Regions from separate parts of the Homo sapiens genome. Here all the other regions are linked to region 1. The links are contacts of gene promoters, found by promoter capture Hi-C in blood cells and fetal thymus (Javierre and others, 2016). All regions are on one chromosome and are shown on one strand. Each heading gives the region's core, a stretch centred on a gene start or on the middle of the fragment in contact. The rest is flanking DNA. Distances are from core to core; before and after follow the strand shown.

The links. Contacts are between HindIII fragments. The CHiCAGO score rates a contact against its expected background, and 5 or more counts as called.
Region 2: a contact is called between a fragment that was not itself captured here and the fragment with the promoter of LYN in region 1, in 1 of 17 cell types (naive B cells). The highest score is 5.3, in naive B cells.
Region 3: a contact is called between a fragment that was not itself captured here and the fragment with the promoter of LYN in region 1, in 1 of 17 cell types (erythroblasts). The highest score is 6.2, in erythroblasts.

Annotation. Positions count from the first base shown.
Region 1 is chr8:55,877,857-55,881,367 of GRCh38, reverse strand. It overlaps LYN (LYN proto-oncogene, Src family tyrosine kinase), which reads right to left and starts at 1,533. Exons shown (of 13, transcript NM_002350.4): 1 at 1,265-1,533. RefSeq lists silencers at 750-929, 960-1,249, 1,330-1,499, 1,520-1,579 and enhancers at 1,730-1,789, 2,350-2,439. The HindIII fragment of the contact is 13,046 bases long and covers 1-3,511 here.
Region 2 is chr8:56,220,881-56,224,391 of GRCh38, reverse strand. No RefSeq gene overlaps it. Among named protein-coding and RNA genes, the nearest start is that of CHCHD7, 11 kb to the right of the region's middle. The HindIII fragment of the contact is 288 bases long and covers 1,644-1,931 here.
Region 3 is chr8:55,578,434-55,581,944 of GRCh38, reverse strand. No RefSeq gene overlaps it. Among named protein-coding and RNA genes, the nearest start is that of XKR4-AS1, 59 kb to the right of the region's middle. The HindIII fragment of the contact is 205 bases long and covers 1,826-2,030 here.

The DNA.
Region 1 (3,511 bases), core at 284-2,783:
TCCCTGTAGCCCACCAGTTTATTGGCTAGTTCTTTAGGGAAAGTCAGACTACTGGGCCCTGCTTTGGGACAGCAAATCCCTCATGTATTTATTAAGCAGATTTACTAATAAGGTCAGATGGCTAAATCTGACATGGTAGTCTTAGCTTCAACATCACCAAGCTGCAAAGAACCAAGAAGCCTCATTTATATGAATAGAATTCACTGCAATAAATAACAGTAACATCGTTTATGAAATGCTTGGTACGTACTAGGGGCTTTGTGTGTACTAAACAGCCCCTGAGGTATATATGCTCTCTCAAAGATGAAGAAACTCAAACAGGGAATTTCAATAATCGGTCCCCTAAATATACAGCCAGAAAAGTGCAAGGCCTAGATTCTGAGCTGGCGAAGAAGGGCGAATTTGGGATAATTAACACACTCGGATATACAAAAACACAACCGCTAATCCACATGACAGGCAGGCTGTTGGAAAGTTACGAATGCACCGCAAGCAAAAGATGCCACCATGGGCCCAGAGAATGCAGGAAAGTGGGAACTGACTCTTACGCCCTTCCCCCAAGGCGAAGGAAAGGCAACCCCTGAATTCTTAAAATAACTCTCGCTTCCTCTCAGCCGGCAAAAGCACCGGACTGCTCCTCGGCAGGCCGAGAGGCGCCGCAGCGGGAGGGTGAGTTCCAGCCTCCGCTGCAGCCCCTCGACGTCACGCTCCTGCCCGGGGCCACCAGGGAGGGCAACTGTCCGCGGGCCTCGAGAGGGCGCCGGCCGAGCCCCATCTCCCACTGCCAGGAGACCCAGGGTCCAGAGGGGAGATCAGATTGCACAATCCGAGGAGTCCTCTCCAGTATCCCCGCCGCGCGCCCGCTCCGCAAGGGCAGCGGCTTCCCCACTGTGTGCGAGAAGCGGCCGGAGCAGGGACAGCAGCCGGCCCTCGGGCCCTCACCGGGAAGGACACGCGGTGAGCCCGCCCCCGCGCCCGCACCTCCCACCGCTCCCCTGCGCGGCTCCGCGGCGGACACCTGCGGAGCCTCAGTCCCCGCGCCCTGGCTCCCCCGGGCCCGGTCACCCGTCGGCTGAAGACATCTAAGAGCCTTCGCCGCCGGAGCCCAGAGGCGGTGCGGCCAGGAAGCCGCCGCGGGCCGCGCCGATGCCCCCGGCCCCGAGTCTACCCTGCGCCCGGGACTCCGGCTGGTGGCACAGCCGCGGCCCCTGCACCCACTGCCCGCGTGCCCGCGCCCACCCCTGGGCTCGCGCAGAGGACTCACCCGCTCGCGGTGAAAGTTTCGGGGCGGCGGAGCTCCACGGTGACTTGAGTTCAGAGTGGGGGGCGCGACGGGGCGGCCCAGCAGGACCTGCGTATGGGGAGGCTGCTGGCCGGGAACGCTGGACGCGCGGCGAGGGGCTGCTGGCGCGGGGCCGGGGGTGGCGCGGCCGCCCCGCTTGCCGCGGGCTGGAGGCTGCAGCGCGTCTGGCCCGGAGGCGCCACGGCCGGGGAGCGAGCGGCAGCGCGGCCCGGCGCGGCGGGAGAGGAACTGGCTGTCTCTGGGCTCGGCCGAGAGGTCCCAGCTACTTCCTGGTGCTCGGATTTGCATATTGAGCCCGGAGGGCGGGGAAGTGACCGTTTGGTCCCTGCCCAAGGTTTGGGTGTTTGGTGTGGCCGTCGCGCAGGGCTTTGAAGGCACAGAAACCTGGCGACTCAGTCTGCAGCTCCGGGGAGTGGAGCAGCCCGGGCCAGCCTTCTCCTGTAGGGACGGACGGAAGGATCTCCAGAGGAGCCTGGGCTTCGCAGGCACATCGACTACACCTCTCGCGTCTCCTTTCCTTTCCTTCCGACCCATCCCCAAGGTATTATTAGGAAGGGGGTGCTCCCAGGAGCGGAGGAGGTGCGCTCTGATCCCTTCCAACATTAGGGGTTCTCTAGAGAAAGGATGCGATATGCCGAGGTGATGCTCGGGGTCTCGCTGAGTTCTTAATAATCATTACAAAGTAAGTTCCTTAAGGGTGTACAGGAGGCTGTTCAGGGCATTGATGGGGGAGGGGATGACGTAGAGTCAAATGGCCCGGCAAGTTCTCCGTTTCTCAAAGCCTCAGTTTCCTCCCAGGACAATGGATGTGAGGATGCCTATCTCGTGTACCTTTCTGTACAGGGCCCGCACTGCCCGCATGCAGGAATGCTGGCGTTATTTCATTCCTACTACAGCTGCGTCCCAGCATGTAGGGCAGTGCTTGCACGTAGCAGCTGGTGCCTAACCAGTGTTTGCTGAAAGAATGTGTGACCGCGTGCTCAAGCTCATGTTCAACTCAATAAATGCCACTTACAAATCCAAGATGTAAGATTAGGCTCGGGCACCGTGGATACCCACTTCTTCTAAGCCAGATTCTGTTCACTGGGATCTCAGCATTGCATTAATAGCAAACATTTACAGAGGGCCTGATGGGCCAGACACTGCCCAAAGCACTTCCTTTCTCTCATTAACAATGTTCTGAAGAGGCTGACCCCAGCTACAGAGCAATAAGTCAAAGCAGCTGCCTTGTGACACAATCTGATACAGCAGTTATTTGTTACTAGGAAAAGAGTACTAAAGTTTGCATACTAATTCCTTAAAAGAAGAAAGGTGGTTTATACCTGTGATGTTCACTGGTATGTAGTTGTTAGTTTACTGCTGAAGAGAAGGGGTGGGTTGCCCATGGAAATACCCATGGGAAGGTGTGTGATTGAAACCTATCAAGAATCCTATGGAGAAAAATAGAAAAATGAAAAAAGAACAAAACAAAACAAAATGAAACAAAAAACAATGAATCCTACAGAATAATTCACTACCTGAGGGCCTATTGCCTAGACTTTTCTTAAGAATGACCTCTCAAATATATTAACCCTACATTAAAGTTTCTGCTGCTACTGATGAATCCTTGAGATCCTGACTAAACGTGTGTGGCAAATAAGAATAGGATTCAAAAACGTTTGGTATTGGTTAATCTATCAGGAATGTCTGTCAGTGTTTTTGGTAAAATGTCTCTCAGGGTAAGGAACAAAGCATCATCAGGCTTACCTGAGCTTGCAACCAGATCCCCAACTCCCTAACTCCTCACAAAATTGTCCTCACTAAGTTCATCTCTTCATTCTTATTTGGAAAAAAACGATACGATGCTAATTTCCACTTCTTAGGCTGCATTTATACTTGCTGAATACTTCATTCAATCATTCTCCATATCTGTCTTTCCTTCTTAATGTCCCATGAAAGTTCTATTTCTCAGGAAAGTTTTATTTAAAGCTCCTATTGATAGGCAACTTTTTAAAGCATCTGTAGCATGTATGGTGTGCAACATTATTTTAAACTAGACCTAGGTACTTTTTAGCATTGTTTGCCCATGTTAGGCTTGTCTCCTCAACTACTGGTAAACTCCTTTTGGGAAGGCACTGCCTTTTATATTTATCTATTCCCCACTCTACCTCCCAGAAATTATGTTGGGTGCTTTAAAATAGTTCATTAGTATTGATTGATTGGTTAATT
Region 2 (3,511 bases), core at 538-3,037, 340 kb before region 1:
TGAGGGGGAATTAGGAGGGGAGAAGAATTCTGACCAGGCATATGAGGAAGGCCTTAGAGAGATTTCGTATGAGCTAAGCCTTAACAGACAGGTGAAATTTTAACTGGAGCAGTCAAGAGATGGCCGTTCAAGTTCAGAAAATAGGATACATCGGGAATGGTGAGTGTGCATGGAAGGAATGCACAGGTTGAGCATCCCAAATTTGAAAATCTGAAATCTAAAGTGCTGAAATCCCAAATTTGACGCTCATAGAAAACGCTTACTAGAGCACACCAACTTCAGATTTTCAGATTTGGGATGCTCAACTGATAAGTATAATGCAAGTATTCCAAAATTTTTTAAAAAATCAAAATAAAAAACTTTTCCGGTCCTAAGTATTTCAGATAAGGGATGCTCAGCCTGCACTTAGATATTTTTATGTCTGTCTATCTAACTAAAACCTAAGGTCATTAAGGACATGGGTTGGGTCTTATGTGTCCAAAACCAAATCCCTTTCTAACTTCCTCAAGCTGCTCCCTTTATAAACGTGCCAGCTCTCAGAGGATTTTGTAAACCAAGGGAAGAAATGTGAACGTGCGCCTGAGGTGGTGAGCAGGTCTTGGGAATTTTTTCCCAAGCAGAGGAATTATTTCATTTGTGTTTTAGAAAGATTTGCCTGGCCATAGTATACAGAAGGAATGGCGGTGGGAGGTCGGGGGTAAGATTCGATGGGAGAAAAGTTAAGACAGCTGCAGTGTGATTCAGAATCACTGCAATAACCTGTCTGCCTCAATGCCTCTAGATTTTTCTAAACACAAACTAGATTTGATCCTCTCCATCTCAAAATCCTTCATAGCTTTCTCTTGCATACAGAATAAGGTCTAAAATACCAAGCATGGCATTCAAGACCCTTCATAATCTACACCCATTTTACCTTTCTAGACTTTTTCTCTTGCTACCTCCCTTCACACACCCTGGCTCCCGTGAGAACTTCTCCTCTAACATGCTATGTGTTTATTGCCCCTTTGTATTTATTGAGGCTCCCCTCTTAGAAGTTTGCTCTTATTCCTATTATGGTGATCATTTCATTTTCCCTTACAGCAGAGTGGAATTCTTTGAGGGCCAGGACAGTGTTATTCATCCATGCTCCTCCACAACGTTAGCCTAGCATTTTGCTCATTATCGACGCCTGGCAAATATCTGTTGAGCAGAATTTAACGGTAACAGCAGTACTGGTACTTGGATTCACTTAATATTTATTGAGCTCCAGAAATCATAAATAAAAAAACTGATCCACTTAATTACATTGAAATGTAAAACACTGTACAGAAATATCTTTACAAGCAGAAATTAAAGTTAAAAGACAAACTAGGGAATACACATAGAATACATACGACAAAAAGGTAATTTCTTTGATAGACCAAGGGTCCCCAAATCATTCACACCAACATTTTTTAAATGAGCAAGGGAAAACCAATAACCTGCAGTTCCATTTTTCACTGATTAGATTGGTAAGGATGAAAGAGTTTTAAAGTATCCAGTGGGACTGAGGGTGTCAGGTAAGAAACACTCACAGGCTTTGTTTATAAGCGTATAAATTGGTGTGGTCCTTTTTGGAGGGCAATTGATTTGCAGTATCTACACATTTTTAAACGCAAAAAGCTTTAACCTAGAAATTCCACTCTTAGCAATTTTACAGATAAAAACACGCACAAAGACCCAAGAACAAAGATGTTGCAACCTTGTTTATAGCACACTCATCAACAGGAGATTGCTTCAATAATGGTATATCATAAAACAGAAACTGAAGCCACTGAAAGAAATAAAGTAAATCTATAATCACAGATAGAAAATCATTCCAAACTTAATATCACTTAATATCATTAAGTGAAAAAAGCAAGGTATCCTACAGCTCACGTACTATGATGTTCTTTTTATGTAATAGATAAGCTTTTATATGCATGGAAAATCTTGAAAACTTGACACCGGCTGCTTCTGGGGCAGATTTATTGTACACTGTATACCCTTTTGCATTGTTTGAACCTGCATGTTTTTCAGTGTGGTCAATTTTAAAAGCCACCACCTCCTCAAACACACACATTTGTTGACCATTTACTATATAATAGAAGCAGACCAGGCATTATGGCTATAACCGTGAATGATATTATGTCCTCCAGGAGCTTACAAATACTAGATCCGATTCTCAAAAAGGAAAAAAAAAAAAGATGCTTTTCCGTGCTACAGACACAGTGCACCATCCTCCCCCAACCCACTGAGAATCTGTAATAAGATGGTTCCTGCAGGACAGAGATGCACATGAACACAGCAAAATGCCTTCTCTATATTTTGTCAGTTGATAATTGATATCAAAGGCTTGCCGACGCCAAAATTTCTCATGGCGCCCACTGACACAATTTATCAAATTAATTAGCTTCACCTCTCCCAAAGTAGAATCTTGGAAAGGGAAATAAATACAACAGAGGCAAATTTAACAGTGGTGATGAGAAAAACTCCCAAGACTGCCACTCAAAAGTGGTGCCATGAGATCTTGAACAACCAGGTTATAAGAAGAGTATACTGAAGTTTTCAGGGTAGGTGTAAAGAGGTAAACTAGGAATTAGGGAATTACTGAAGACAAATTTTAAACTGAACAAGTTTTGCCTGGACAGAGTCATTACATATATGTTAAGGATTTGCTGATTAAAAATCCCAAAACAATTAGTTTGTCATTGAAAGTACTTTATAAAAAACACACTTATAGAAACCAATCATCAAAGAGCTGTGCCATTACTACAAAGCTACAGTAATCAAGACAGTGTGGTGCTGGCATAAGGATAGACCTATACAGATCAATGGAATAGAATTTCAGGCCAGAAATAAACTCTCACATGTACAGTCAGCAAATTTGCAACAAGGGTGCCAAGACAATTCAATGAAGAATAGTCTTCATCAATAAACGGTGCTGGGAACACTGAATAGCCATATGCAAAAGAATGAAGCCTAACTCCTACCTCATAATGTACAAAAATTAAGTCAAAATATACAAAGACCCAAATGTAAGAGCTAAAACCATTAACACTCTATGAAAAAAGGTGGAAATCTTTGTGACCTTGGATTAGGCAATGCTTTCTTAGATATGATACCAAAAGCAACGAAAGAAAATAAGAAATTGGAGTTCATCAAAATCAAAAACTTTTATGCTTCAAAGTACACCATAAAGTGAAAATACAGCTCACGGAATGGGAGAAAAAAATTGCAAACCACGTATCTGATAAGGAATTTGTACTGGTATATATAGAACCCTTAAAACTCAGTAATTAAGACAACTCAATTTAAAAATGGGCAAAGGATCCAAATAAACATTTCTCCAAAGAAGAGATACAAACTGCCAATAGACACATTAAAATTTGGTCGACATCATTAGCCATCAAGGAAATGCAAATCAAAGCCATAAGGAGATACCAGTTCACACCCACTAGGATGGCTGTAATCCAGAGCAGATAACAAGTGTTAATGAGGAAGTTGAGAAATT
Region 3 (3,511 bases), core at 679-3,178, 300 kb after region 1:
AGAGTTTACAAACTGCTTCAGGGAGCTCCTTTGGGAGCTGCAGTGAGGAGAGGTGGATGCCGGGCAGGCACTGGAAGGAGGCTTTTGGCATTTGAATAGAATTTGTTTGAACAAAAGTTCCTGATGGGGGAAGAAAAGAAAGGAAACCACTATTTTAAATCAACCAAAGCCTATTGCCTATCATGTTTCTTGGCAATTAAGCAAGCAGAATTTTTTGGAAAGAAAGTTATTACCCTGGTTTGTAAATAAGGAGCTTTGGGTTATACCTTAACAATATCAATGCCACTAAAAGGAAACTGATTTTTTACAGTTTTTCACCTTAGTGAACCTCTAAAAGCCATATCTTTTCCATCTGTCAAAATTATACTCCTTTTAAAGATATTTCTTAGCCCTAAGGCCTTGCACAAAATATTGCTCTTCTAATAGTATATCCCAGATTCCTCAGTCATTAATTTTCTTCCAGCCTTCTTGTTGCATTTGTTAATGTGTTTATTATACTGCAGATCACAGAAACCTTGCATTAGATTTGCTTGTATTTTTGTGTTTTGCATTTGTCTCTTCCACAAGACTCTGAGCCTCTGGACAGCCCCCATTCATCCTCATATTCCCCATGGCACCTGTCTAGGCATGGGGACTTGTACAGAGTAAACCCTAAATAGATTCTAGTTTTCCTGAGTTCTCAGAAGTCACAATTTTTCCAACAGGATAAGGTAGCCAAGTAAATATTTATTGTAATGAAAATAAAGTGGCTGCCTGTAATAATAAAGTACGTAGGGCAATGTTTTTACTTATTTAGAGAAGTCATGGATGACAAAAATCATTGTGGTCAATAATTGGAGACAAATCTTCTTTAGTCGTAGTCCTTATCAACTATTCTGTTTCTAGAGGCTGCTGAAGTGTCTAGTTTGACAGCTACCAGTATATCTTTTATACAGTGGACATATTCGAGAGACTTGTGGACTCATTTGAAATATCTTCATCATCTTGAGTCATTGTAGACCAGGTACTCATTCTCATAAGTCTCTAAAATTGTTCCAATAGCTGTTCTTGGGAATAAAAGTGCAATACATTTGCATAGAATTTTTATCACAGAACACAGGTGGGATAAGTTCCTTATCGATGATGTGAACTCCTTGGGCTAGCTTTATTTCTCTACACTCATGAAGCTGGGTAAAATTATTTAATTTTATTCAGTTGTATCTATACTAGGGTGGGTATTGGAAACCCAGGTATGTTGAATAGTGGCCCCCAAGGATGTCCATGTTCTAATCCCCAGAACATGTGAATATGCTATCTTATATGGCAAAAGGGACTTTGCAGATGTGGTTAAGAATTTTGAGGTGGGGAGATTGCCCTACATTCTTCAGATGGGCCAAGTGTAATCACAAAGGTCTTTATAGGAGGGAGGCAGGAGACCAGAGTAGGTAGCAGAGGTACACTGATGGAGGTAAGCGGTTGGGAGGATGCAAAGAAGGCCATGAGCTGAGCCAAGAAGTGCAGGTGGCTTCCCAAAGCTGGAAGAGTCAGAACGGATTCTCCCCTGGAACCCCCAGAAGGAACCAGCCCTGCCCACACCTTGATTTTAGCTCTTTAAGATTTATTTTAGGTTTCTGACCTCCAGAACTGTAAAATAATAAATTTATGCAGTTTGAAGCCAAGTGTGTGGCAATTTGTTGCAGCAACTGTAGGAAATGAATACAGAAACCATACAGAGCATAGTCACCATCCATAGCATATCTGTGTCTACCAAGCTGCTGTACACTTCTCACTTATAGCTGATGTTCTCTGTCATTTTTTCCTTGGACTAAGCTCATGGAACAAAGCTTAGGAATTTAGAAGCACAGGAATAAGTGAGTTTAATTTTTCCTTTAAAGACTAGAATAGCATTGGAAATGGAACATGCTGAATAAGAGTAGAAACAGCTTTTCTATATGGCCCTGACAGTATCCTTCCTCCCGTTATGCTTCTTTTATCTTTGAGGTGAATGCTCCACCTGCTGTTGGAAAGCTGTTTAGTGCTAACTAGAAGCTTTGCTCCTGAACTCATCATAAACTTCTTGGTAGAATTGTCGATGTGATCACAGGATCAGAAGGGGCAGTTTGACCTTTTTTAAAAAGAGTGTGTTTTATTTGGAGTATTTTGTTTGCAAAGAACACAGATTCAATCAAATTGTTTCATGGAATTAGATGTTTAAGTGGAAGTTGATTATAAATGTGACAAATATAATTTTGTTCCATAATATTGGGACAAAAGGAAACGGGTATTTTTTAATTTTTCTAGATCAAATACATTTGGCTTGGCCCCCACTTGCCAGAGTTGCTGGTATGTTTACAACTAGTCATGACTGGAGATTGAGAGGTCCTATTCCTCTTCCTTGGGGTTTTAAGAAGCTGGGGCTGTCCCCAGAGGACAAGCTCCAGTGTGCATGAATGCCTCTGCTTCTATCACACTAATGTCCTGTTGGCCAAAGTAGTCATAGAGCCAAGCCCAGAGTCAAGTGAATGGGTGGCCAAGCATGCAACACCATGAACACCGAGAGCAGGGCTCATGAGGGACCCACAATAACCATTCAGCAGAGACTCTCTTAGCTTTTCCATTCAAACCTCTTAGCTTTTCTATTCAAACCAGCTCACTTCAGGTTAAATTTCTCAGTCATGAATTTTTATAGCATTTGGTGATTACTCTTTCCTGGCAGTAATCATATGAATTTTTTTTTCTAATGGTCTCTGTTCCATTTGACTGTTAGTGCCATGAGGGTAGGAAACATGAAGGTCTTTTTCCATGCCAAATCACTTCCAAAAGACTTTGTGCCTGGAAAAGTGTAGGAGAGGGTCCTCTTCCCCCAGCAGAATGGAACCAGACAGACTATTAGGTGACACAAACATGTCCACTAGGTTGCCCCATAAGCAGTTTTCTTAGACTTAGCAACCCTGGGTTGGATGCACCTAGTACAGAGAGTTGAGGATGAAGTTTGGGGCCATGTGTCTTCAGCATTAAGTGAGTGGTCTCAGATCAGGTTATAGAAGCATCAAGTCTGAGGGCAGGCTAGGTTCCATCGCACCATTCTGATTCCAGAGCTATCCCTTCATCAAGCAGTTTTTGGTTGCTCATTTTGCTCCCTAATAGGCCCCTGATTAGAAAGAGAGATTTCCTTCTTTGTCAAGTATTACGGTTTCCCCCCTCTTACAAGTTAGAGCCATATAGGTTGGTTGAAGAAATCAGCTCTCCAGATTTTTGACCAGTGATAGGTGCTTGAGAAAAAGCAGGATTGAGCAGTCTGAACACAGGCTTTAGAATAAGGCAACCCTGGATGTGAATGGGGGTTCTGCTGCTTCTTATCTGCCTAGTATTGGCCAAGTCACTGAGCCTCTATGGGTCTGTTTCACCATCAGCAAAATGGTTATAATAATATTTTTTTAATGAAGATTAAATTAAATACTGCAAATAGGACTACCTTCTTCCCCACCTGAGCCTCCCCTTCCTCCCTGTGTCCCCCTCCCCAGTTGGTCAC